Linked DNA regions of Homo sapiens: all the other regions are linked to region 7. Evidence: promoter capture Hi-C in 16 types of primary human blood cells and fetal thymus (Javierre and others, 2016). All regions are on one chromosome and are shown on one strand. Each heading gives the region's core, a stretch centred on a gene start or on the middle of the fragment in contact. The rest is flanking DNA. Distances are from core to core; before and after follow the strand shown.

Evidence for each region. The method cuts DNA at HindIII sites, captures the fragments that hold promoters and counts their contacts. A CHiCAGO score of 5 or more calls a contact.
Region 1: a fragment that was not itself captured here is called in contact with the fragment with the promoter of TENT5A in region 7 in 4 of 17 cell types (fetal thymus, naive CD4 T cells, naive CD8 T cells and 1 more); the score reaches 7.9 in fetal thymus.
Region 2: a fragment that was not itself captured here is called in contact with the fragment with the promoter of TENT5A in region 7 in 2 of 17 cell types (neutrophils and total CD4 T cells); the score reaches 8.9 in neutrophils.
Region 3: a contact is called between a fragment that was not itself captured here and the fragment with the promoter of TENT5A in region 7, in 6 of 17 cell types (fetal thymus, naive CD8 T cells, neutrophils and 3 more). The highest score is 9.9, in fetal thymus.
Region 4: a fragment that was not itself captured here is called in contact with the fragment with the promoter of TENT5A in region 7 in 12 of 17 cell types (naive CD4 T cells, total CD4 T cells, naive B cells and 9 more); the score reaches 15.9 in naive CD4 T cells.
Region 5: a contact is called between a fragment that was not itself captured here and the fragment with the promoter of TENT5A in region 7, in 12 of 17 cell types (naive CD4 T cells, total B cells, neutrophils and 9 more). The highest score is 23.1, in naive CD4 T cells.
Region 6: a contact is called between a fragment that was not itself captured here and the fragment with the promoter of TENT5A in region 7, in 5 of 17 cell types (total CD8 T cells, naive CD8 T cells, total CD4 T cells and 2 more). The highest score is 7.7, in total CD8 T cells.

What each region holds. Positions count from the first base shown.
Region 1 is chr6:79,969,856-79,973,822 of GRCh38, reverse strand. LOC124901351 (a long non-coding RNA gene) reads right to left here. Exons shown (of 3, transcript XR_007059656.1): 2 at 1-62. Among named protein-coding and RNA genes, the nearest start is that of ELOVL4, 24 kb to the right of the region's middle. The HindIII fragment of the contact is 8,436 bases long and covers 1-3,967 here.
Region 2 is chr6:80,081,000-80,084,763 of GRCh38, reverse strand. No RefSeq gene overlaps it. Among named protein-coding and RNA genes, the nearest start is that of BCKDHB, 24 kb to the left of the region's middle. The HindIII fragment of the contact is 6,761 bases long and covers 1-3,764 here.
Region 3 is chr6:79,989,519-79,993,575 of GRCh38, reverse strand. No RefSeq gene overlaps it. Among named protein-coding and RNA genes, the nearest start is that of TTK, 13 kb to the left of the region's middle. RefSeq lists an enhancer at 1-366. The HindIII fragment of the contact is 8,753 bases long and covers 1-4,057 here.
Region 4 is chr6:80,009,620-80,013,272 of GRCh38, reverse strand. TTK (TTK protein kinase) reads right to left here. Exons shown (of 22, transcript NM_003318.5): 5 at 2,316-2,459; 6 at 1,725-1,839; 7 at 1,472-1,544; 8 at 1,293-1,387. Among named protein-coding and RNA genes, the nearest start is that of TTK, 6.8 kb to the right of the region's middle. The HindIII fragment of the contact is 2,315 bases long and covers 1,048-3,362 here.
Region 5 is chr6:80,097,300-80,100,942 of GRCh38, reverse strand. No RefSeq gene overlaps it. Among named protein-coding and RNA genes, the nearest start is that of BCKDHB, 7.6 kb to the left of the region's middle. The HindIII fragment of the contact is 1,346 bases long and covers 1,263-2,608 here.
Region 6 is chr6:80,026,543-80,030,157 of GRCh38, reverse strand. It overlaps TTK (TTK protein kinase), which reads right to left. Exons shown (of 22, transcript NM_003318.5): 13 at 2,147-2,273. Among named protein-coding and RNA genes, the nearest start is that of TTK, 24 kb to the right of the region's middle. The HindIII fragment of the contact is 179 bases long and covers 1,960-2,138 here.
Region 7 is chr6:81,750,599-81,754,623 of GRCh38, reverse strand. It overlaps TENT5A (terminal nucleotidyltransferase 5A), which reads left to right and starts at 1,943. Exons shown (of 3, transcript NM_017633.3): 1 at 1,943-2,193; 2 at 2,446-3,034. The coding sequence starts at 2,483. RefSeq lists enhancers at 872-921, 1,782-2,282 and a silencer at 1,742-1,871. The HindIII fragment of the contact is 5,877 bases long and covers 1-4,025 here.

The DNA.
Region 1 (3,967 bases), core at 1,320-3,819, 1.8 Mb after region 7:
ATTAAGGTTGTTGTGGAGGTTAATATTGTCAATACCATCATTATTGCTACATGTATTGGGTTCTGGAGGCAGAGGCAGTGAGATTAATTCATTTGCCAAGGTCATACAGTAAGTAAAGAGACATTTATCATCACTTATTACACTTTATTATACTAATCTTTTTACTTATCTTTACTATACTGTCAATTCTTTGATGATTGTGCCTGAATCGGAGTCAGCTTTGAATAATAACAAAAACACTAGCAACCAATATTTATTGAGTACTCATACTACTTTATATGGCTGACCTCATTTAAGGCCTTACAACATGTGTATGCTGTAGGTGCTATTAATAAACCTACTTTATAATAAGATATATATTAAACCTACTTTACAGTAAAATGTATAGTAGTTATTTATCTTCAAGATAAATTCCCAGAATTGAAATTACTGCAAAAGGTTATAACTATTTTTTCACTTTTAATTTATTATTTATGATTTTAAAAATAATCTTCATTTTTAGAACAGTTTTGGATTTAAATAGAAATTGCAAAGATAAAAGAGTTCTCATATACCTCACACACATTTTCCCCTATTATTACCATCTTACATTAGGATGGTACATTTGTCACAATTGTTGAACCAATATTGAGTCTGTACTTTATTCAAATTTCCATAGATTTTACCTAATGTTCCTTTCGTTTCCAGGATCCCCTCCAGAATACTAACTATATTATTTTAGTTTTCATGTTTCCTTAGGCTCCTCTTGGCTATGACAGTTTCTCAGACTTTCTTTGTTTTGGATGACCTTTATCATTTTTAGGAGTATTAATTATACATTTGTAGAATGTTTTGGGAACTTGTCTGATGTTTTCACATGATTAGACTGGGGTTGTGGATTTGGGGAAGAAAGACCACAGAGGTAAACTGTTATTTTCATCAAATCATATTAAGGGTACATACTATCAACATTTTTTATCACTGTTGATGTTGACCTTGATCATGTGATTGAGGTAGTATTTGTCAGGTGTATCCATTTTAAAGATACTCTTCTTTCCCTCTTTTCATACTGCACTTTTTGGGAAGAAGTCACTGGGTGCAGCCTACATTTAAGGAATGGGGTGTTATGTTCCACTTCCTTGAAGGTGGAGTATCTACATAAATTATTTTGAATTCTTTGGCAAGGGAAATTTATCTCTTCTTTCTTTCTTCTCCCCTCCCCACCTCGCTCCCTCCCTCCCTTTTTTGGTTCATGGCTATTTGTTTTACATTTTGGGCTACAGTGCAATACTACCTTAATTTGCTACTCAAAATGTTTCAGCTTTAGGCTTTGGTTGCGGTATCCCTTTGCCATATCCATAAAATTGGGGGGGGGGGTTTCTCTGAGTACTTCCTTACTTTCTGGCATAACTACAGAAAGTTATACCAGGCTCTTCTTACACATGTCCTGCCCCAGTCCTAGAGCTAGTTATTTTTTCAAGGATTTCTGGTTACTTAGATTGGAAAATGGTATTAAAAACCAAAATCTGGGCCGGGCGCGGTGGCTCACGCCTGTAATCCCAGCACTTTGGGAGGCCGAGGAGGGCGGATCACGAGGTCAGGAGATCGAGACCATCCTCGCTAACACGGTGAAACCCCGTCTCTACTAAAAAATACAAAAAAAATTAGCCAGGTATGGTGGCGGGCGCCTGTAGTCCCAGATACTTAGGAGGCTGAGGCAGGAGAATGCCGTGAACCCGGGAGGCGGAGCTTGCAGTGAGCAGAGATCACGCTACTGCACTCCAGCCTGGGAGACAGAGCGAGACTCTGTCTCAAAAAAAAAAACAAAAAAACAAAAAAACACCAAAATCTGGATGCGACGTGTGCTTGTTGCCTGTAGAGTATCATTTACTCTTAGCCCTCTCAGCTGACAGGGCAAAGGAATACATGTGTGTATACTGACCTGTGTATTTACAGACAGTCCCTGACTTATGATGATTTTTTAACTATATCATGGTGCAAAAAATCATGCACATTCAGTATGCTCCCCAACTTACAGTGGGGCTATATCTGGATAAACCCATTATAAGCTGAAAATACCTTAGTCGAAAATGCACTTTTGACTTACAATATTTTTAATTTATGATGGGATTATCTGAATATCAAAGTTCAGGAACATCTGTAAACATCTACATGTAAAACTCTTTGCATCTATATTAAGCCAAACGGGAGTTTATGTTGGTGTGTCCAACTCTAATCTACTACAATAGGGATCATCCTAGCCTCCTCCCTTTGCTTACCTTTAAATTTACACTTTAATAGTAAGAAACCTGGCTTCCACTATTTGCCATTCATTTACTTAATTGTTCAATTCTAGTACACATACACAGAAGTATCAGAATTGTTGACTCATAACACTGTGGGAAATAACTATATCAACTACAGTACATTACCTATGTGCTGTTCCTTTCTCTTTTAGTCTTACAGATTACTCATTTTCAAATGGACTTAGGTCAGCAAATTTTATCCCAACACCTTTCAGTGAGGTTGTTCTATACATTTTGAAATACAATTAGATTATATTGTCACAGTCTATATTTCATCCTGGAACCCTCCAAATTCCAAAATAATTTTGGAAATTTTGCATACATTAAGGTTTACTCTTTGCTGTAAAGTCCTATGGGTTGTGAGAAATGCATAGTGTCGGCAGGGCACGGTGGCTCATGCCTGTAATCCCAGCACTTTGGGAAGTGGAGAGGGGGGTGGATCATTTGAGGTCAGGAGTTCAAGACCAACCTGACCAGCATGGTGAAACCCCGTTCCTACTAAAAACACACACACACACACACACAAAAGCTGGGCGTGGTGGCGCATGCCTGTAGTCCCAGCTACTCAGGAGGCTGAGGGAAGAGAATTGCTTGAACCCAGGAGGCGGAGGTTGCAGTGAGCCGAGATTGTGCCATAGCACTCCAGCTTGGGTGACAGAGCAAAACTCTGTCAAAAAAAAAAAAAAGCATAGTGTTATTTATCCACCATTACAGTATCATACAGAATATTATCACCACCCAAACAAAATCCACTATACTTCACATATTCAACTTTCTCCCCTCCCCTTTAGCCCCTGGCAACCACAAATCTTTTTTTTTTCTTTTTTCTTTTTAAAGAAAGGAATCAGGATTAACCAAAATCCACATATAAAAGGAGAAACCTTGCAGATTTTTCAAATTTCTATATATCCTCTTTATATTATGATTTATAGCCCTCATTATGCTGTACCTTTACTCCATTGATTCTATCATGAGACTTACAGGAAGAAACAGTAAAACTGATCTCCACAGGCCCACTATCATGTTTTTTAGTCTAGTTTGTGCAGTCCTATGCATATGCTGCAGGAAGGGATGACTCTCCATAGTTTCCACTGATAGGAAGACCATATGAATAAGGGAAGAGAAATATAAATGAAACATCCATATAATCTAGCAAGGCTTTCTTGCTCTTTTTAATTTTTATTTTTATTTACTTATTTTTATATTATTTATTTATTATTTTTAACTTTTACTACAGGTTTAGGGGTACATGTGAAGGCCTGTCACATAGGCAAACTCACATCATTTGCTGTACAGACCATTTCATAACCCAAATACTAAGCCTCGTACCCATTGGTTGCTTTTTTCTGTTCCTCTCCCTCCTCCCACCTTCAACTTCAAGTAGAACCCAGTGTGTTGTTCTCCACTTTGTGTCCACGTTTTCTCATCATTTAGCTCCCACTTATAAGTGAGAACATGCAGTTCTGTTCCTGTAATAGTTTGTTAAGGATGATGGCCTCCAGTTCCATCGACGTTCCTGCAAAGAACATGATCTTGTTATTTTTCATGGTTGTGTAGTATTCCATAGCATATGTGTACCACATTTTCTTTACCCATTCTACCACTGATGGGCATTTAGGTTGATTCCATGTCTTTGCTATTGTAAATAGTGCTGTAATGAACATGTGTGTCCACGTGTCTTC
Region 2 (3,764 bases), core at 1,087-3,586, 1.7 Mb after region 7:
CTCACCAGCATGTGTTGTCACCTAGGAACTTGTTAGACATGCAGATTTTCAGACCTACTAATTAGAAACTCTGAGTGGGGTTTGGGGGGTTCGCAATCTGTGTTTTGTTTGTTTTGTCTTTTGAGACAGGGTTTGGCACTGTTGTCCAGTCTGGAATGCAGTAGTGGGATCTTAGCTCACTGCAGTCTCAAACTGCTGGGCTCAAGGATCCTCCACCTTCAGCTTCCTGAGTAGCTAGGACTATAGGCTCACATCCCCACACCCTGCTAACTAAAAAAAAAAAATTTTTTAGAGATGGGGTCTCACTATGCTGTGTTACCCAGGCTGGTCTAGAACTCCTGGACTCAAGCAGTCCTCCCACCTCAGCCTCTCAAAGTGCCAGGATTATAGGTGTGAGCCATCACGCCCAGCCAGCAATCTGTGTTTTTAACAAGCTGTCCCAGGTGTTTATGATATATACTAAAGTTCTAAAGCACTGATCCAGATAATTTCTGTGTCTACCTTTGCTTTTCAAGACCTTGACATTTATGAGGAGTACAGGCCTGTTGTTTTGTAGGATATCCCTCACTTGGGCTTGTTGATGTTTGCTTACGATTAAATTCAGGTTATGCATTTTTTAGCAAGAATACAACAGAAATGATTTTGTGTCCTCTTCCTTGGGGCTTATTAGAAGACACATGGTATCAATGTGTTTCTTCAGCTTTGAGACTAACTGATCATTTGGTTAAAGTGGTATCTGCCTGGTTTCTCTACTGTAAAGTTACTATTTTTCTCCTTGTAACTAATTGTCTTGCAGGAAGATTCTTCGACACTATGTAAATACTTTCAGGAACTAATTTTATCACGCATTGATGAATCTTGATCTTAAAACAATTATTACTGTGGTGTTTGCCAAATAATGATTTTTCTATTTCCATCAATCTGTGCATGTTACTAAGAATTCTACTTTAAAACATGGCTTTTCATAATCCTTCATTTATATATTTGTTCAACGATTTATTTATATCAGCATGGATTCTTATTTTATTCATGGATTATAACTATCATCATTATTTTTTTTTGTTCCAATTGTCCCAGATTTAGTCAATGGGAACCCCTTCAAGTTGGCTCTTTTGTCTTTTTGGCATGTCCCATCATATTTGGAGTCTTAAGAATTTACATCTTGGTTATCTGCTTTCGGCATTCCACTCTCCTAGCGACGGCTTCAGTGAGTATGAACCACTTTTAGCTATATAATTTTTTTTTTCTGAGACAGTCTCACTTTGCTGCCCAGGCTGGAGTGCTGTGGAACAATCTTGGCCCACTGCAATCTCCGCCTTCTGGGTTCAAGCAATTCTCATGTCTCAGCCTGCCCAGTAGCTGGGATTACAGGCATGCACCACTGCGCCTGGCTAATTTTTGTATTTGTGGTAGAGACCGGGTTTCGCCATGTCACCCAGGCTGTTCTCGAACTCCTGACCTCAAGCAATCCTCTGGCCTCGGCCTGCAAAAGTGCTGAGATTACAAGCCTAAATTTTGTTTAATAAAAGAAAGATAAACATATTTTTGAAAAGATATAGGGCTGGGTGTGGTGGCTCATACCTGTAATCCAAGCACTTTAGAGGCTGAAAGGATCACTTGAGGCCTGGAGTTCAAGATTAGCCTGGGCAACATAGCAAAATATTGTCTCTCTCTCTCTACACACACACACACACACACACACACACACACAGACACACACACAACATTAAAAAAAAAAGATTTTTTAAAATCAGCACAAGAGAACAAGGTGAACTTGGCTTTCTAAGAATGACTATGGAAGCCCATCTTCCCAATGTTTTGAATTCATGATTCATCTGTAACTGAATATAAACATTTCTATTTGACCTAGTCTCCCAAATGTGTGAGAAAAGATGGCCCAAGGACTACCAAGAAGTTATCATCGCTAATGCCAGATTCTATAATTCCATACCATCTAAGCAACAGACTAGAGTCTTCTTTCAAAATTTTCATTATAGAATAGTCTTCACACAGTATACTGGCTGTAGATAAAATGCATCTACATTTTTCTATGTTTGGAATTACACATCACATATTCTTTCCTAAACGAGTAACAGTATTATTCAGAGAGGTTGGTAAAAGAGAGATTGTATTCAGAAAAGAGGCATTGTCTTCTGTACATCTTTGTGACTTAGTCTTGACATTCCTGGGGACAGAATTACCAGCCAAAGCCTGCAGGTGTTAAGTAGGGTATGTGCTTTAAGTCCACAATGATGCAAGACACGGTCCTAGCTGCTTTTCATTGCTACAGAAGGCTCAGGCTGGCCCTGTTGGACACCTACCTGTAGGATTTGTAACATAGGTGAAAGTTTAGGAAGTGTGAGTGACAAAATGCAGATCAAGTAGGAAGGATCACACAGTCTGAACCTCTTTCACTCAGGCAATCAGAATTGATGGCAATAACTGATTGATTTAGTTACGTATTTATTTACTGTATATTTACTGAACACCTGCTAGGTTCAAGGCCCTGAGATAGGTCCTCATGGAAACCAGGTTATGTGAGACATCTCAAAAGAGTCATTCCTACAGATTTAAATAAATTGTTTCTCTTAAAGAAAAAGAAAATATGTTTAAAAGTCTAAATAATTAAACACATACACATTTGAGTGTACATATATGCACACTCAAATAAGAAATTGCTGGGCAATTAAGAGGTGCTTTTCCATTGGTTGCTGCTCTTTTGCAATTCAGTGAGCAAAAAATTTCATTAGAAAAATTTCAGGGAAAAGCTCAAACTATTAAGAATAGAATTAAATTACATAATTTTATTTTTAATAAAACATAGTATGATTCTATTTATATGACATTCAAAAGTAGGCAAATTTAATCATAAGGAAAAAATCAGAGCAGAGATAGCAGGGATTTAGTAGTATCTGTTGTTACATAACAAACACGCCAAATTTAACAGCTTGAAATAACAAGAATTTATTATCAAATAATTTCTGTGGGTTAGAAATTTTGGACTGGTATAGCCCAATGGTTCTGGTTCAGGATCTCTCAGACTAAGGTCAGTATATTGGCCAGGGCTGCACTCATCTCAAGGTTTGACTTGATTTGGGCTGGTTTATTCACTTCCAAGATGGCTGTTGGCAAAAGGTCTTGGTTCCCTGCTAACTGTTGACAGCAGGCCTCAGTTTCTTGCCACATGGGTCTTTCCATAAAGCTACTTGAGTGCCCTCACAATTTGGCAGCTGGCTTCCCCTAGAGAAATTTGCAATGGTGGCCAGGCACAGTGGCTTGTGCCTGTAATCCCAGCACTTTGGGAGGCTGAGGCAGGTGGATCACCTGAGGTAAGGAGTTCGAGACCAGCCCGGTCAACATGGCGAAACCCTGTCTCTACCACAAATACAAAAATTAGCCGGGTGTGGTTGCACATGCCTGTAATCCCAGCTACTCCATAGGCTGAGGCAGGAGAATAGCTTGAACCTGGGAGTTGGAGGTTGCAGTGAGCCAAGATCATGCCACTGCACCCCAGCCTGGGCAACGGAGAAAAAAAAAAAAAAAAAAAAACCAGAAATCTGCAATGTCTTTATAAACCAATCACAAAAGAGAAAGTCCATCATTTCCACAGTATCTTATTGTTACCCTGGTCAACATTATTTAATGTGGAAAGACATTACACAGGGCCATAATATTAACAGGTGGTAATCATTGCAGGCCATCTTAGAGGCTGACTACCACAAGAGATGGAGGAAATAACACAAAGGAACTTTCTGGTGAAATCT
Region 3 (4,057 bases), core at 1,529-4,028, 1.8 Mb after region 7:
TTGGGCAGGGATAAAATATCCAAACTATATCAGCCTCTGAACCTGTGATGAAAGGGACTGTTCTGAAGATTTCTGAAATGACTTTGAAGCCTTTTTCCTTTTGTATTGGATAGTAGCACTTGGCTCCTTTTTAGTCATGCTAATCTCTCTAGCAAGTGGTTGCTCCACAGCTTGCTTGGATTCCTTTACCTGAAAATGCTTTTTCTTTCTCTGCCACATGACCAGGCTGCAAATTTTCCAAATTTTTATGCTCTGCTTCCCTTTTATTTATTTATTTATTTTTTTTTATTTTATTTTATTTTTGAGACAGGGTCTTGCTCCATCATCTAGGCTGGAGGGTAGTGGTGCAATGTCAGCTCTCTGCAGCCACTTCCTCATGGGCTCAAGCAATCCTGCTGCCTCAGCCTCCTAAATAGATGGGACCACAGGTGCACCACCATGCCCAGCTATTTTTTTGTATTTTTGTAGAGGTGGGGTTTCACTGTGTTGCCCAGGCTGCTCTCAAACCCTTGAGCTCAAGCAATCTGCCCTCCTCAGCTTCCCAAAGTTCTGGGATTACAGGTGTGAGCCACCATGCCTGGCCTCTGCTTCCCTTTTAACTGTAATTTCCAGCTTTAAGTCACTTGTTTTTTGCTCCTGTGGTTGCTTGTATTTGCTCCTGATCATAAATTGCTAGAAGCAGCCCGGTGACCTCTTTAATATTTTGCTGCTTTGAAATTTCTTATGCCAAATAGTCTATTAAGTTCAAACTTCCACAGATCCCTAGGACATGAACACAATGCAGCCAAGTTCATTGCTAGGGCATAACATGGGTGACCTTTACTCCAGTTTCCAAAAACTTCCTCATTTCCATCTGAGACCTCCTCAGCCTGGTTTTCACTATCCCTATCTCTACCAGCATTTTGGTCACAATCATTTAACCAGTCTCTAAGAATTCAAAATTTTCCATCATCTTTGTGTCTTCTTCTGAGCCCTGCAAACTCTTCCAACCTCTCTGCTCGTTGTCCAGTCCCAAAGCCACTTCCACATTTTCAGGTATTTTTATAGCAACACTCCACTCCTGGTACCAATTTTCTGTGTTAGGCTGTTTTTGCATTGCTATAAAGGAATATTTGAGGTTGTGTAATTTGTAAAGAAAAGAGGGCCGGGCACGGTGGCTCACACCTGTAATCCTAGCACTTTGTGAGGCCAAGGCAGATGGATTTCTTGAGCTCAGGAGTTTGAGACCAGCCTGGCTAACATGGTGAAACCCCGTCTCTACTAAAAATAAAAAAATAGCAGGGTGTGGTGGCACACGCCTGTAGTCCTGGCTGCTTGGGAGGCTGAGGCAAGAGAATCACTTGAATCCAAGAGGTGGAGGTTGCAGTTAGCCGAGATCATGCCAAGTGGCATTCTGAGCGACAGAGAAAGACTTCGTCTCAACAACAACAACAACAACATAAAAGAAAGAAGAAAGAGGTTTAATTGGCTCATGGTTCTGCAGGCTGCATGAAAAGCATGGTGCCAGCATCTGCTCGGTTTCTGCTGAGGGCCTCAGGAAATTTCCAATCATGGCAGAAGGTGATGGGGAGCCAGCATGTCACATGGCAAGAGCATAAGCAAGAGAAGGGGGAGGTTCCAGACTCTTTTTAAACAGCTGATCTCACATGAACTAACTGAGCGAGAACTCACTCATCACCAGGGGTATGACACTAAGCCATTTATGTAGGATCACCCCCATGATCCAATACTTCCCACTATGCCTCACCTCCAATATTGGGAATTACATTTCAGCATGAGATTTGGAGAGGACAGACATTCAACCTATATCACCCTTCTTAGTTTACCTAGACTAATCAAAATTTCAGATGAACCAAATAGACATGGGAAGAAATGTCTTTGGGGTAAAGATATGTATTAGTCAGCTCAAGCTACCGTAACAAAATATTACAGACTGGGTGGCTTAAAAAACAGAAATTTATTTTCACACAGTTCTGGAGGCTGGAAACCCAAGGTCAAGGTGCCAGCAGGGCCAGTTTTTGGTAAGGCCTTTCTCCTTGGCCTGCAGATGGCAACTAACTTTCTTTCTTTCTTTTTTCTTTCTTTCTTTCTTTCTCTTTCTTTCTTTCTTTTTCTTTCTTTCTTTTCTTTCTTTCTTTTTCTTTCTCTTTCTTTCTTTTCTTTTCTATCTTTTTTTTTTTTTTTTTTTTTTAGGAGGAGTTTCACTCTTGTTGCCCAAGCTAGAGTGCAGTGGCGCAATCTTGGCTTACTGCAACCTCCGCCTCCCGGGTTCAAGCCATTCTCCTGCCTCAGCCTCCCAAGGAGCTGGGATTACGGACACGTGCCACCACACCCTGCTAATTTTTGTATTTTTAGTAGAGACGGGGTTTCACCATGTTAGTCAGGCTGGTCTCGAACTCCTGACCTCAAGTGATCTGCCTGCCTCAGCCTCCCAGTCTTTCCATGTCCTCATGAGTCCTTCTCTTTCTGTGTCACAGTGGAAAGTGAGAGATGTCTCTGGTGCCTCTTCTTCTTCTTGTAAGATCACTAGTCCTTTTGTCCAGCACCCCATCCTTATGACCTCATTTAGTCTTAATTTCCTCCTTATAGGTCTTAACTCCAAACACAGGCACATTGGGATTAGGGCTTCAACATATGAATTTTGGGGAGACACATTCAGTCTATAACAAGGGATGTCTAGGGAGAGTAATAGAATAAGTCTAGTGTCTGAGAGCTGACTGTTCCTAAATAATATTTATTAGCTACTATGCAGATGTATAGATAAGCACTATGCAGATGTTGTGCATGGGCCAAGAATGTACCAGAAATCTAACAAACCTGAAAAGGAAACAATTCAAAAGTACTCCTCTGGTCCTGATTTTAATGCTATCCGCAAAACTCCTCCCTTTTTGAGAGGTCCTAAATTAATACTGAGTTATTTTAATTTATTTTCCTATGTTCCTTGACTCCACATACATTTCTCCTTTTCTCTGTAATTACTCTGATGAAGCCATCATAATCTCTTCCTAACAAGAATGATAGCAATGCTTCTCCAATTTGTCTTTTCACATTTACTCTTATTTGCTTTCAAATTATCTTTTAAAAGGGATAAATCAGACAAAGTCTTTGGTGGTTTCCTATTCTTTAAGCATGATATTCTTAATTCAGGCTATGAGGCTATATGATCTGGTCCTTACCTCCCTCTTGAGCTACATTTTACAGCAGTCTTCCAAGGCTATTCACTGTGTTTTAGCACATATGCTGTAGCTACACTGGACTTCTGGTTCCTCCAACAGGCATCTTTTCTATACACAGTTCCTTCCACCTGGGATAATCTTCCTCATTCTCCAGTGCCCTCTAGTTCCCTTTGTTCTTCAACAAGTCTCTGTTTCAGATCTTTTCCTCAGAGAAGATGTACTAGGTTAGGTTCCCTCATTACACTGTCTCTGCACACTTGACTCTGGATCTTAGAAAAAGATCCAAGGCCTAGAGGTCAGATACTTAGTTTCTCACTGTAGTTCTTGGCCAAGTCACTACTTTTCTGGAGTTCCTTGTGCCATGAACTGTATGAAGGACTGAATACTATCACAAAGATATTTTGTAAACACCTTCAGACTGTCAGGACTGACACACCAAAACCTATAGCTGGGGATGCAATGGGGGAGAGTCACCAATGGAAACCATCGCTCAGAGTTTTATAGTCTTTTTTCTAGCATGTTGGGTTGAAACAAAGAAGTACAGAATTTTGCATTATGTGCACATGTGGTAGGGTAAGGAGAACAGAAGGGCAGTGTGTAAAGGACTGACTAGGCTGGTTATTGTGGTTGAAGTTATAAGCCATATGTTTTAGGTTATATGATGTTTGTTCCTTAATAATGTATGTCAATTTAATAGTATCTTTTTGGAGGAAAAAATAAATATATAAGTTATGCACAATTTAAAAATAGTTTTATTCAGGCATTGTATACAGCAAACTATACATATTTAAATTGAACAATTTGATAAGTTTTGACGTATGTATACAGCCATAAAACTAAAACCACAATCAAGATAGTGAACATATCCATCATCCCCTCAA
Region 4 (3,653 bases), core at 956-3,455, 1.7 Mb after region 7:
CCCGTGAAACAAAATAATTTTAACATTAAATTTGAAAAAAAAAATTTTCAATGTATTTTTTCATCTCAAGTTGGATTTTTAATAATATACATACTTTTTATTGAAAAAAATCTCTTAAAAAGACATTTTTTAGAGTGACATAATTCCAATACAAAAGTGACTTAGCTAACAAAATTACGTGCTGGGCAATGACAAAAGTGACACAGGTGATCGCCTACTTCTTCATTATCTAATCAGTAACAATTGGAGTTAGGGTTAGACTGTGGGAAAGGCAAAGTATACAGATGAAACTACATTTCCAATTACAAATAGCTAAAGGATAAGAACCAGGGTATAGCACTTCTGTGGACCTCCACAGTACCTAGCATTGTCTATCGATAACAGGAACCAAGAAAATGGCTGCAGTTTTTCTGTTTTTGTTTTTAATTTTTTGGAGCGGAAGAAAATCTCCTTTATTCTTGAGCTAGGTATTTGAAATAGAGATGAACAAGATGAAATCATAGTGATAAGACTTTAAAGCTTAACCTTGACAAACAAAATGTTCTTTTAATGTCAATATTTAGTCAAGTCTAAATATAATAGAAATGTAATTATAAAAGATAGTAATGAAAAACAATCGTATTTCTAAAGTTTATTTGCAAAATGATTCTCTGGACTGTAAGGAGCCTTTTCCAATATAAATATTACAAATGTTGGTCAGAATTAAGAATAGGCCAAAATAACTCTCCTTTAGCTGAGCTACAGGCTACATTCCCATTTCTTAACAGGGAATAAACAAGCAAATTGAGGGAAGGAGAACACACTGGATGTGATGAACAGTAATTCATCTGTACCTAACCTGTCCCACTTCTTGAAGCACTAGACTCAAGCAAAAGAATAATCATCTATCCCACTGACAGCGATTCTCCCCTTGAACTATCTGGAGCAAATATTTGTTCCCAGACCTCCTTCTACCCGTTATGGAGACTCTCAAACAAAACAGGAAGAGATTCTTAGCAGACAGCCTACCCGTAAGTGACAAATCCTCAAATATCAGTCTTTTAAGCTTAATGTTGACTTAATATTTTTTCCTTTTAAAGCTCCTTTAATGAATATTTTTAATGAGTGAAAAAGCAAAACAAAGTTATTTTCTCCACTCATTCCTTTGTTCCTGACAACATTTAGAGATTATCTTCTAAAACTGAATAAAAATTTAATCATAATTACTATTACTCAGTAAAAGACTTTAAGACCATTCTGCCATTAATCTTCCCATACGGACAACAAATTTTAAAAATTAAAACTCAACATACCTTTTCATAAAACAAGGTACAACTGAATCATCTGTCTTCACATCACAATCTGGGCTATTTAGAAGGTTAACTGGGACTCTTCCAAATGGGCATGACTAAAAATATTTTGAAAGATTAAATAACCAACTAGGAAATAAAGACTATCACCACCTTAATCAAGCAGATTGAAAGTAACTTACCTGTTTAGTTTTGTTAGTTTGTCTCAATGAATTCCGGTAACCTATTTCTGCATCTTGTGGTGGCATGTTCTCTCTAAACAGAAAGAAAATACCCCCAATTTTTCAAAGAACAATATTAATATGTATTTCTACTCTACTGCTAAACATTATCACACACATGAAAACATATATGCAGATACATGTAATTACATTAAAAAACACAGATGTACTTACATAGAAGATGAACATTTAAAAACTGTTTCCGTTTCCTTACCCATATAAAAACCTGGCTTTAGTAGTCTGTCCTCTGGAATCACAACTGTTGTTCCTATTCTGTAAATGCCCAAGTGAACCGGAAAATGATTCTTGGGCAGTTAATACCGTAGATGCTGTAAAAATTTTGAAACTATGATTAAATTTATAAGAAATAAGACAAGTACAAAAAAGTGATCTTACAAATAAGAATATTTTAAAAGTCAATTCATAGGAAATACTTGTCCCCAAGTAAGATATGCAGACATGAAGATGATACCAAGATAATTATCTAACTACTTCTTCAAATTCTCTTAAATTATATAACTATTTCCCCAGGGTAAAAGCACATTCTCTATTTCCAAAAGCAAAAAAAAAAAAATTCTCTTGCTTAGAGTTGTTTTTCATGTGTTAACGAAAGTTTAGTTAGCAAAAAAGACAAATTTGCATGGGGTTGTAGAGACTTTTTTACTTCTCAGTCTTACCTCCTTTACAATTTAATCTTAGATTTTAACCATTCTACATAAATAATATTTTTCTATAAATTATTATCCCGAATCTTTATTTGAAGTACTACCTACCACAGAAAGTATTAGTATACCTTAATAGTTACCTGATAAATTCTTCTTTTCCTCCTCTGAAAGCAGCTGCTTTTTTTGGAGGTTTAAATTCCGCAGGGCAATTTCCAGCATTTCTAGTGGTACTGCTCCACGTTCTACAGCTTTTTGAAGAAGTTGTTTACTTTTTTTGACATTACCTAACAAAGCAAAAGATAATTGTCATTTTTAGGCAGTAAAATGCCCACCACCCAGACCACCCAGATACGTATTCATCAGGACCTAGAAAAAAAAATCAAAAAGACTTAAGCAAAAATATTTATTCCAAGGCTCATGTATTTTATTTCATAGGCAAGTAAGCAATCTCTCACTTTTTATGCAGATAACCAACTCTCTTCTGATAACAATGCATACCAAATAGTTTCCTTGCAATATGTAGCTGACGTAATTTTGCATTAGTTTATCACCACTGTCCACTTTCAGAAGTAACAGAAGTGTAACAAAGCAGTTACCAACAGGGGACAGCAAAGGCCAATCACAACAGTTAGAAACAGGAGGGCATTCTAGATGTTACAAAAGTGCCAAGAGCATCAGTCTCTTACAACATGCTATAATAAGTATCATTCATAATGACATTTAGTTAAGGGAAGGATGACATCTTTTGTTAAAGAGCATCTTCCATCAAAAGGATTTTCGGGGAAAAACATAATAAATACAGATTAATCTTTAGCTGTCACACTCAGCTATACCAGCCTGAAAAAGAATGCAGAATAACTGAGGAACTATCATAATTACCTTTCTGAGTATGGACAGATTACCAAAAAAATTGGTAAACTTACCCCTAGCATTTGACATATAAATATTAAATGTATACATCACATATCTTACAGAATATTATCAACATTTATGGGAGCCATTGAGCTATGCTATGCACTTGGTACTTAGCGTATAAAAATGCTTAAGAGATGATCTCTAGCTTCTGGTAGTTTATAAATTTTTAAAAATATCTTTGATAGTGCTTACATCTACATTTACTAAGTAGTGGTAGAATTTCATGTATTGTGTATTTTAGCACAAGAAAAGAGAGAAAGGCTTAAGAAGCTTAATTAATCAGATAGCTTAGTATTGAGATCAGAGATTTCTTTAAGAATCTGGTAAAAACTGAAATGTCCTCCATCCCTATAAAAATACTCACACACCAGACTCTGCATAGGACTTCAGGGATGCTGCATTATTTCCTGACAGCCAAGCCATCAACTGTGCTCAAAATAATCATAATTTGACCACACTGCATTACTGTGCAATGCATTTGACCACATTGCATCACTGTGCATTACTACCACATTGCAGATAAAGTGGTATAGATAAAGTTCGTCTTTTTTACAGATAACTCA
Region 5 (3,643 bases), core at 686-3,185, 1.7 Mb after region 7:
AATTCTTTGTCATCCCTTGGCTTGCAGTTGCATAAATCCAGTATGTGCGTTTGTTACCACATGCCGTCTCCATATCTTTGCACAGCTATCGTTTTATAAGGACACCAGTCATATTGGATTAGAAGCCCACACTGCTCCAATCTAACCTCATCTTAACTTAATCAATTACATCTGCCATGACCCTATTTCCAAATAAGCTTAAATTCTGAGGGCCAGGGGTTAGGTACTGGGTTTGGGGGTAGGGGAGTGTCAAGCTCAACATATCTTTCAGGGGACAGGGGCATAACAGTCAGAGACTTGGTTGCAGGAACAGAAGCTAACTGGATGAATGCTTTTGATAAACTATGGATGCTTTTGATAAACTATTAGGAGGATGTTTACATGGTTAAAGAGTTTTTATAAAGTGTTTTGTGGATTTCTTCAAATATGACCTAAAGTCATTTGGAGAAGGGTTAAAAATCTAGAGATATTTGGTCTAGATAAGATTTTAAAAGTGATGTATTAACTCTCCCTCAAAGTTTGATGGGCTCCCTTGTAGAGGGGTTAAATTTACTATTTAGCTCCGGAGGGAAGAATAAGAAACAGGAAGAAGCAAATTCTAGTGTAATATAAAGAGCTTCTTATTAAGTAGACTGTCATGGGAAGTAATGAATTCTCTATTACTGAAATAGTCAAGCACGAAATGGATGAACACTATTGAGGGAGCCTCTTGGGAGGATTTATGCTTCATTTACAGGTGGTTTAGCGTACTTCTAATTTTAAGAATTCTGATTCTACTATTCACTAGTGTGTACTGAGAGCCTTGCATGTGCCAGAGACAGTGTTTCAATCAACATTATTTTAAGCCAACCCCTGGTCTAAGCCAGCTGTCCCATCCAGCATGTGAGTTATTCCTTCTTCCCCTTCCTCGGCATCTTGGCAACTTCTCTCTGGCTTCTTATCTCCTGCAGGGGCTTGAGATGCACTGTGATCAGTCTTCCAAGCACTTTGAACCATGCTATGTAGACAGAAGCCGTGTAAGCCAGTCACTGAAGAAAGGGCATCAAAAAGTGACATTATTGGAAGTTTGGGCTCAGCCCAGGGGAAGGATTTAGATACAATCAATGGCTCAGAAAACGGCTACAAATGTTAATATCTGCCTGTATGTATAACAGTGTTTTAGAGAGAGCTACTCATCTGTAAAAATACATACCAGCCCGGCAGTAGTGATTTTTTAAAACTTCCCCAGGTAATTTATGAGTACTGCTAGGTTTCTCAAAGCTTAATTAAAACTATGGCTTACATAATTGTGAATATTGGGACAAAAGAAATTTGAGACCCATATCTTACCTTACCTCCATCACAAACTTTATTGGGAACACCAGGTGGTGACCAGTGTGGAAAAAGAGAGAAGAGCAAAGGGGCAGACAGGCAGTGGTCACCACCAAAGACCCTTGACAATTTGATTTCCTCACCATGTAAAGCCACTCCTAAACACAGGTAAAATAGAAGTCAGCCTATGTCACATGATGCACACATTTAACCTACCCAAATTCACATGAGACTTTAAGTAGAGCAATTGATTCTTTCCTTTTTTTTTTCAAACAGTGTAAGCCCTGGACCAGTGGTGCTCCGCCTTGACTTCACGTTAGGATCACCTAGGGAGCTTTCAAACATGCTAATATCCAGACCCCATGTGGAAAACAGTGTTGATACAAATGTTTCTATTCCCTCTGCTTTTAGGAACTCAGGTAGATTGAACTTCCCTAGCCACCTGAAATCAGGCATAGCAATGTGTCTTGATTTGCCAGTCAATGAATTTGACCACAAGTACAGACGGGCATTCTTGGGTGGAAGAATTTAGCACCTGGTAGCCATTTCTCTAGTTCTCTTCCTGTGCCTCATCAGGTAGTAACATTTCAGAAACTAGAGCATCCATAAGCTGTTACTGGAATGACACTACATGGAGAATCACCTGTCCTTCTTCCATACTTGTTTCACCTGGAGCATGACTGAGAAACAATTTAACAGTGTATATTTTTATCTTTTAAAAATAGAACATGGCTTCTAATCACAAACCTACTTTACATGGTGTTCAGCTATTCTAACATATCCTAACTCTTCAGGAAACATTCTCAGTAATATAGTTACTAAAAGTGCATTTTTCTACAACATGATGCATAAATGTAGCTACACATTATTATTGTGGATTTAAACTGTTGTCAACTGTAATTTTAGCTAGTCACAAGTTTTATCTTGCACTTAGGTTTTGGAATCTAAACACTTAAAACTGATGCAACTCTCCTCTACTGAAGAAACACCAAAATCTTTTCTATGCACATTTTAATCTCTTAAAACAACTTGATGACAAGGTCTTGCTACAGTCACTTTACAGATGAGAAAACAGGATCAAAGAGATTAAACTGACTAAGCTGAGTTTAAGCAGTTTAAAGTTTTCCAGTCTGTATTTTTCATATTTCAAAATGTGTGGTCTTATGCTGTGTTTCTCAAATTTATTTCTCAGAGTAATCCCTGAGAAACTTGTTCAAATTTTAGATTCTCTAGGCCCCACGCTGAGAAATTCTTATTCAGTAGGCCTAGGGTAGACTATCTGCATTTCTAATAAGCTTTCCCCCATCCAGTGTCTTTGATACAAATAGTCCACATATCACACAAACCCTATAAACAACAAACAGCCTTTATATACACTGTGTTCTCTGTCCAGAAAAGAACAGCTACCACCTTTCCCCACTCACTCTTTTATTAAGTAGGGTTATTAGGTCACAACTACTGAAATCACTTCTTGCTAACTTACACAGAATTATGATTACTTTTCAAAATACAGGATGGCCCACAAAAATTGAAGAAAAAAAGCAGCCTCAGAAAGAACAGAAACCAGGATGGCCCCAGAGATTCAGGTAACAGGAGTTAATTTAGAAATGTGTGAGAATATTAAAACTCATAGGATGAATTGGCTCCAATGTCTTTATGTGATTCTGCTCAAGATTCAGTTTTTAGGAGAGAGAATCTGACTAGCTTAGATTAGTTCATTACTATCCCTTGACTAAGGAACAGTAGGGTATCCTACTGACCAAGACTATATACAAAGTAAAAAAGATTTCCCAGACATAACTCAAGGGACTGCTACCAACCAAAGGGAGAATTGATGCTTGGAAGCCAAAAAAAGACCTAATGACTATATAGTTATCCTGCCCAGGAAGTACCCATGTGGTCCCTCTAGTCATTAAAAAAAAGAAAAGAAAAAAACCCACTATGAAAGTACTTCCTCTGAATTCTTCAACATAGACTGGAAAATTGCCACTAGAAGACTACTTAAATATACTTAGGAATTTCTGTAGAAAATGGTGGTAAAGTTGAATATTCTTATATCCTCTCTTTTAAAAAGAAAGAGTAAAGGGGAGCAAATTAAACACACACATTTTACATATACAGCATAGTTAGGACAGAGACATCTACAAACTAAAAATTTATGGGAAAATGAAAAATAAACAGACAACATTTGGCTCACACAGGTAGAGGGAGTCTAGAGAAAGCTTTATTTGGAGCAGAAAGATCATCTGAATAGTCCTAAATCTACAAAAGAAGCTAAATTTATACCTTAAAATGTCCCAACAAACAAAACTTCAAGCCCAGATTGCTTCGT
Region 6 (3,615 bases), core at 800-3,299, 1.7 Mb after region 7:
AAGGCCTGCTTTAGGTTCCAAATGGTAGAATCTCTCATGTAATCTCCTATTTAAATAAAAAGATAAGTATTCTAATTTTTTCACCTCTAGGATTGAGATACATTGTCTATATATATTTCCTGTAACAAAGTATTGGGCTTCTAAACATGTATGTGTTGTAATTTCATCAAGGTTTCCCCACTCCTCCTTTTGTGCCTTCTCTGTCTTCTTCCTTTCATATTTAAAACTGTGAACATTGCCAAGGGAAGAAAGCAGTTCAATGTCCTTTCTCCACGGCTGCTGACAGTTTTTAGAATAAAGTAATTCTTATTTCTGACTCAACACTAATGTGAACTCTGGTTTCCTCCACAGGACTTCCCGCATCCCCCTTAGTATGCCCTACTCACTGTGGTTAGAGTTTCCAAAATGCAAATTGGATCATTTCACTTCCCTGCTTCAACCTCTTCCAAAGCTTCCCACCCTCTTAGGGTAAAACTTAAGGGCCCAGCAAACCTTGGGCCTCACTCCTTCCCCTTCCTGACCTCTAGCCACACTGTGGCCTCGTTTCAGTTCTCTTCTGACACTGGCCTCTTCTAGAAGGCTCCACCAAGCCCCTTCACTTGTCATCTGTGACTCGTCTTCTGGATTGCAACTCAAACAGGGCCTGACACTAGTAATAGCTAAATAAATGTGTTTTGAATCAATGCATGAACAAACTGGATCATTTTTGTTTTTCCTTTGTAATTTATTATATTGTTTCAATCCTTAAAACACTATCACCTCTTTCCAGTTAGTATCTACTGTCAGCTCATTATTTTGTCCATTATTCTTTCAAACTGTGCAAATTATACATAATGCAAAATTTACCACTTTAACCATTTTTAGGTACAATTCAGTGGCATTAAGTACATTCAGTATGTGATGATGAAAAAGTTCTGGTGATGGATGGTGGTGCAAATACCACTGAAACTCTATACCCATTAAACAGTAACTCCCCATTCTTCCTCCCTTCCCTGACAACCACTGTTCTTATTCTGTCAGCTAATTTTTTTATCAGTTGATTTTTATAGTTAATTACTCATGGGTTTTTTATTGTTTTATTTAAATAACAATTGCTACTAACATTTCTGATTTACTAAGTGTCATGCTCTGTATTAGGAGTTACGTCTATATTAACTAATTTAATCTTCACAACCATCCTAGGAGGTAGTTAGCTTTACTAATTTTATAGATAATGAAATGGGCACCGAAAATTTAGGTAACTTGCAAAAGATCACACAGACTGTAAGTAGTGAGGCTAAGATTCATGCCCAGTGTCTCCAAGGCCCATGTTTTCTACCAGTATTAAGCTGCCTCTAGGACAGTTACTAGAAACCAACTTTTGCCTCATCAGCAAAAAATCTTTCCTCTTAGTTTAGTTATTAGTATAATACATTCTAGCAGTACCTCATATTGCTATTCTGATATTTTTGAAAATTTACATTTCCAAATGAATTGTATACTAACAAACAAAATGAAGCTGCTCACTAGCAGCTGACAAAACACAACAAAAAGTAACGCTGGCCAGGCGCAGTGGCTCATGCCTGTAACCCCAGAACTTTGGGGGGCTGAGGCGGGCGGATGGTTTGAGGCCAGGAGTTTGAGACCAGCCTGAGCAACATGGTGAAACCCTGTCTCTAGTAAAAATACAAAAATTAGCCAGGTGTGGTGGTGCGTGCCTGTAATCTCAGCTACTCGGGAGGCTAAGGCACGAGAATCGCTTGAACCTGGGAAGCAGAGGTTGTAGTCACCCGAGATCGCGCCACTGCACTCCAGCTTGGGCAATAGAGCGAGACTCTGTCTCAAAAAATAAATAAATAAATAAATAAATAAATAAATAAAAATAAAAAATAAAAGGTAACCTTGATTCATAAGAGAAATTTTATCCAGCTATTCAAACTGGATCCTTTGGCCTAGTTATTAAGAGTAGCTTCGTAAGCTTCTTCAATAACCAACCTCTCAAAGCCACAAGGCACACTCTTATTAGAATATCAGAAAAGTTTTGTCTAGTGGAAATAAGAATGGCCAAGTTCTTAAGACCTTTCTTGATAACTAGATGCTATAAAAATAAAAGCTGTAAAACGGACTGTATCTTAACATATACCATCATATATAAAGCTTATCGAACCTGTAAATTTTGAAGTGGAGTGGCAAGTATTTGATGCTGTTGCTGCTGGAAACAGGCAGGTTGGCCATAAGGTGTTGACAACTGACAAGCAGGTGGAAAGTCATTCTTTACAACTGGAGTTCTAAAACTAGGAAATATATATATATTTTTATTTAAAACATTACAATTTAACAAATAAGTCTGATTCAGTTTCATGTATTTTAGACTGATATAAACTTAAAAGTGTTACATCAAACAGAACCCAAGTTAGTTTTCATGATATAGCTGACACTTATTCCAGATATGCCACCACCGGATATTTAATTTTGGGGAATTCTTTCTGAAAGTAAATATTTGTATGCAGACAAGAAATCTTTGTTTGAAAAGATGGCATTTAAAATACAAAGTGGTTAGGGTTATTTTATATGAATTTAGCAAACATCAGCTTGTGGCCGGCCATAGATTTTGAGTTTTTTTTTAAACAATAATGTTCTATAATGGCTTGCTAGAAATATCAGAAAGCCAATTACATCACAGGAGTTTGGCCTTTGAGCTTAAATCTGTCCAGTATACATTTGTGCTTTGTTTGCCTTTTTGCTATTAATATATCCTCAACACCTAGAACAATGCTTGGCACAAAAGAGCTCCACAAATATTTGTTAACAATAATTAACCTAGTATCACAAGAAATATCTATTATCGCTATTTTAGTTAGCAATCATTCTTTAGAATATTCTACATATAATAAAATGAGGCAATATATAGTAAAACTATATTAAGTAGGTAAGAGGCTGGGTTATAAAATCTTTAAGACCAGTTCTAATTAAGATCAAGGATTACATTATGAAAATGAAACGCAAAAGACAACACGGATTTAAGCTATCCCCTAAGACATTAAAGATATAGCCACCGGTTGATGGTTATAATGTATCGCATCCCTTTATTTCCTTTCTCTGAAATGTCATTCATTTTCTTTTGTAGTATCCCTTGTGTTCCCTATCAGCACACTCATCATCGAACTTCTTCACTTATCCATCATTCCTATTCACTCAAATACTACACCTTTGAATACCTCCAGAACTACATGAACTGTAAAAACCAATCTCTTCCAGAAGCTATCACTTTCCAATTAACACCACTTATGTGAAAAAATTCATCTACTCTTTATCTGCTCTAAGAATGCTAACCTTTAAAATCTCTCTCTTAATAGAGAGATATCTGTATGGCAATACATGATTATCAAGACGTTTTACATCCTTAGAATATTTATAGGTTGTAGGTACAGATTACGATATGACAGAAACTACATGCACAACAATCCTTAAAAATATGCATTATTGCAACCACTTCCCCCTTTCCATTTTATAGATGAAAACACTGATGCTGAAAAAATAATATGAAGATGGAAAGTCTTTAAAGTAAAAGAGCAGGATTTAATCCCAGATTTATTTGGCCCAGAAGCCCATGTTAATTCTATCATACCACCCTGC
Region 7 (4,025 bases), core at 694-3,193:
ACTCCATACGCTTCCCTTTGTAGATAACGCTCTTCTCCTCTTTCCCCGACTACTGAAAGAACATCCATTCTTTCAAGATCCAGTCCAAATGACACCTTCTCGGGTGTCTCTCCGTTTCCTATGTAGTTAGCCCGCCACGCGATTGCGTCAGAATATACTTCTCTCATAATACATATGCAACTGAACCATAATTATGCACCTAGGTGCTATGCCCTCTAGATTACGTGAAATGTCATTCTTAAATCTTCAGCACTTAGCCTGTTGCCTGGCACGTAACAGGTCACTAAATGCTCTCTCTATACACATGCTCACACAAGAATATGCATATGTATATATATGTATAAAATGCCTGGTTAAGATAGATTCATGCGCCGATGGCTGGTCAGAGGAACACATGGGTGTGCTCTGAAGGAAGCGATGGCCCTATGCGGACAGGGTAGTTGTCCTAGAGTCCCCAGGCGCACCTCAGTGCTTAGGCGCAGCGCTGAGGGGATGGCCTCTGCCACAGAGACAGTCGGATTTCTCCATTTTGGGACGCAGCTCGGCAGGGCACCGGGAGGGGGCGGCGTTGTCACGCAGCTGGATGCTCCACGGGTGACACCCCCGCACCCTACCCCTCACCCCCGAGCCGCGCAGCTTGAGTGACTAGGCCGGGGCTCCCCCAGTTAGGAGGTGCGGGCTGTTTTTCCTCCCAGTCTGGGCGGGCAGGGCTGAGCAGGGTTTGGGGAGTATTCTGTGACCCTGGCATTCTCCCCTCTGCCCCACCTCAGCCCCCGGCAGCGTCTAGGCGCTGGGAAAGCTGCTCCGGGTTAGTTGATGGAGGCAGCGAGCTGCCGAAGAGACGGCCACAGCTTTCTAGCAAAGAGTGGTGGTGGCGCGAGTGAGCGTGCGTAGAATTAGCTCTGCCGAAGTCACCGAAGCTGGAGGAGAGAATTCATTTTATTCTTGAAACTCCTACTTTTACGTCTCGTGGAAAACCAAATCGTATTCCACTGACACTATGATGCACTTAAAATGGCCAAACTTTAGGGGGCCGCGAGGAACGCGCTTCGCCGCCTCCAATTTTGTCAGAGAACTCGCAGCAAAGGCACCGGACACCTAGCGGCCCTTTCCCTGGACTCCGGGGCAGCACGCACTCCCCGGGCGCGCTCTCTGCGCCCACTCGGCCCGCCCAGTCCTCGGCCATTGGCTGCTCGCCCGCGTCTGCTCCGTGACGCGCCCTGACCCCCGCGAAGTACTGGCCCCTTGGAGCCACTCGTGCGCAGGAGCCGCGCACGCCCGAGGCCCGTGGTGCCGCCCCCGCGCCTTCTCGGGCTCGCCCAGAGCTCCCCGGCGCGCTTCCCGAGGTTTCGAGAATCGAAACCCAGTTATCAACAAGCCCTTCCCACTCACGCGCCGTGACTGATTTGCGTGCAAGAGTGGACTCATGAGTCCACACTTGGATCGGGTTTATCAATGGAGTAAATGGTCTACCTAAAAACCGAGGTTTAAAAGAGCGGTCGTGAGGAACCTCCGGAGCCCAACCGTGATGATCTAAAGACGGGCTGAGTCCGCGAGAATTTTGGGAAGTTTCTGCAGTTGCAGGATTTTAGTCGTGATCTGGTTTTGATGACCACTTATGATTCCTGGGGCATTTAAAGTGTCTCCTCCTGGGGAAAATGAAAAGAGATTTGTGGGAGGGGGCGTACATAAATTAAATGTATGTATAAATACACGCATCTACGGGCGCACACAGTATCCGCACATACAGCCCAGGACCTCACGCTCACCGGCAGTCGTCCCGCACTAACTGCTGGGCTAGTCAGCTGCGTGCCCTGCGGGCGGGGGAGGGCAGAGGGGGCGGCGCCCTATGCAGATGAGGAGGGTGTGGCGAACGTGCCGCTCTGGGCCCCGGAAGCGCAGAGAAGCCCGGTATAAAAAAAGTACTGAAGACATTTTCCCCGCACAACTGCTAAAGCTCCAGAGACACGAGCGTGTGTGGCAGCAAGAGCCGCCAGTTCGGGACCACCGCAGCTGGGGTGGCAGCGGCGCAGGAGGGGTCGCGGGGAGGGAGTGGTGAGCGCAGGCGGCAGGGGTCTGGGAAAGACGAAGTCGCTATTTGCTGTCTGAGCGCGCTCGCAGCTCCTGGAAGTGTTGCCGCCTCTCGGTTTCGCTCTCGCTCGCTGCGCTCCTAGAAGGGGCGGCCGCCTCCAGGTGACACAGACGGGACTCTCGCTTGCGCTTTCCAGATGCATCAGAGATACTTTTGGTGCGGGGCTGCTCTGCGGGGCGCGGTGCGCGGCTGGGGACTGTAAGGGCCGGGGGAGGGAGTCTCCGAGGAGGCCCGGGGTCAGGGAACTATCGGGGGAGGGGGCGCTCTTTTCCTGGCGGGCCTCTGCTCTCCGCCGCCGCGCGTGCTCTCCGCCGCCGCGCGTCCTCACCGCGCTCCTTTCCCTTTCTTTTTAGGACTGACCAGGGCCAAGTGGCGCTCGGCGGGCACTACATGGCGGAGGGTGAAGGGTACTTCGCCATGTCTGAGGACGAGCTGGCCTGCAGCCCCTACATCCCCCTAGGCGGCGACTTCGGCGGCGGCGACTTCGGCGGCGGCGACTTCGGCGGCGGCGACTTCGGCGGTGGCGGCAGCTTCGGTGGGCATTGCTTGGACTATTGCGAAAGCCCTACGGCGCACTGCAATGTGCTGAACTGGGAGCAAGTGCAGCGGCTGGACGGCATCCTGAGCGAGACCATTCCGATTCACGGGCGCGGCAACTTCCCCACGCTCGAGCTGCAGCCGAGCCTGATCGTGAAGGTGGTGCGGCGGCGCCTGGCCGAGAAGCGCATTGGCGTCCGCGACGTGCGCCTCAACGGCTCGGCAGCCAGCCATGTCCTGCACCAGGACAGCGGCCTGGGCTACAAGGACCTGGACCTCATCTTCTGCGCCGACCTGCGCGGGGAAGGGGAGTTTCAGACTGTGAAGGACGTCGTGCTGGACTGCCTGTTGGACTTCTTACCCGAGGGGGTGAACAAAGAGAAGATCACACCACTCACGCTCAAGGTAACACCACCCGAGATGCACTTGGGTCCTGACCCAGTCTGGGCCGGGTGTGACGGGGAGCGGGCAGAGGGGCATCGGTTAAATGCCATGAATCTGTGGCCATCACGAGTTTGGGCGCGCGTTATTTCTTTGATTTTTGATTTTTTAAACCAGTAAACTGACGTGCGTGGACGGTGTTGAGTGTTTCAGTTTACTTGATGCTTTGGCGCTACAACTCTTCTCCCAGGTCCTCCTCTGCCCTCTCTTCTCTTCTTTCTCCTTATGTTTTAACTCTTGGCTTTCCCTGTTGGAGTCTTGTCCAGAGTAGATTCTGATACTTGGCAGAATGAAATGATGTAAATAATTTTTGAGTCATTATATTTGAGTCTAGCCTTTGGGAAAATAACAGCCTGAAGCAGAAGTGAGTCAATGAGTTTTTTATTGTACTGGAAAAGGTGAATAGATTTCACAGCGGCATTCAGCTGACTACGTGTTAAAGGTCTATCTGGTGGTTCTTCGTGCTGGTTCATATGTTAAGGGTATAGTGGCACCCCCTCCCCACCCTCCACTTTAGTTCAAGACGGGTTTTATATGATTAGTTAAAATTGTCTGAGGAGGCAGGCTCCTGGAATGTCATAATTTAGTTTATATTTGATTGTAACTGCAGGGTGCCCCTGGAGGGACACACAAGATACTGATAACATTGATTGCCGCAGGCGGAGAGGAATTGGGTGGCTTGGAACAAGGGCGAGAGGCTGACTAACCTACCGCTGAATGCCCTTCCGAGTCTTTTGAATGTTGTTTGGATACTGTGTGAATATTGTGCCTATTAGACCGTTTTCAAAAAGTAACACTTAAAAAGTCAGACATGACAACAAAACCTCTTACTACTGTGCTACGTCTGCCAAAAGCCTCAAACTATTACCTCTAGTCCCTTTCCCAGACAGTAAAACTACTCGTTAAAAGTATTTTTTTTCTATTTTCAGAAGACCGTTTAAGCCTGTAGGTAGTG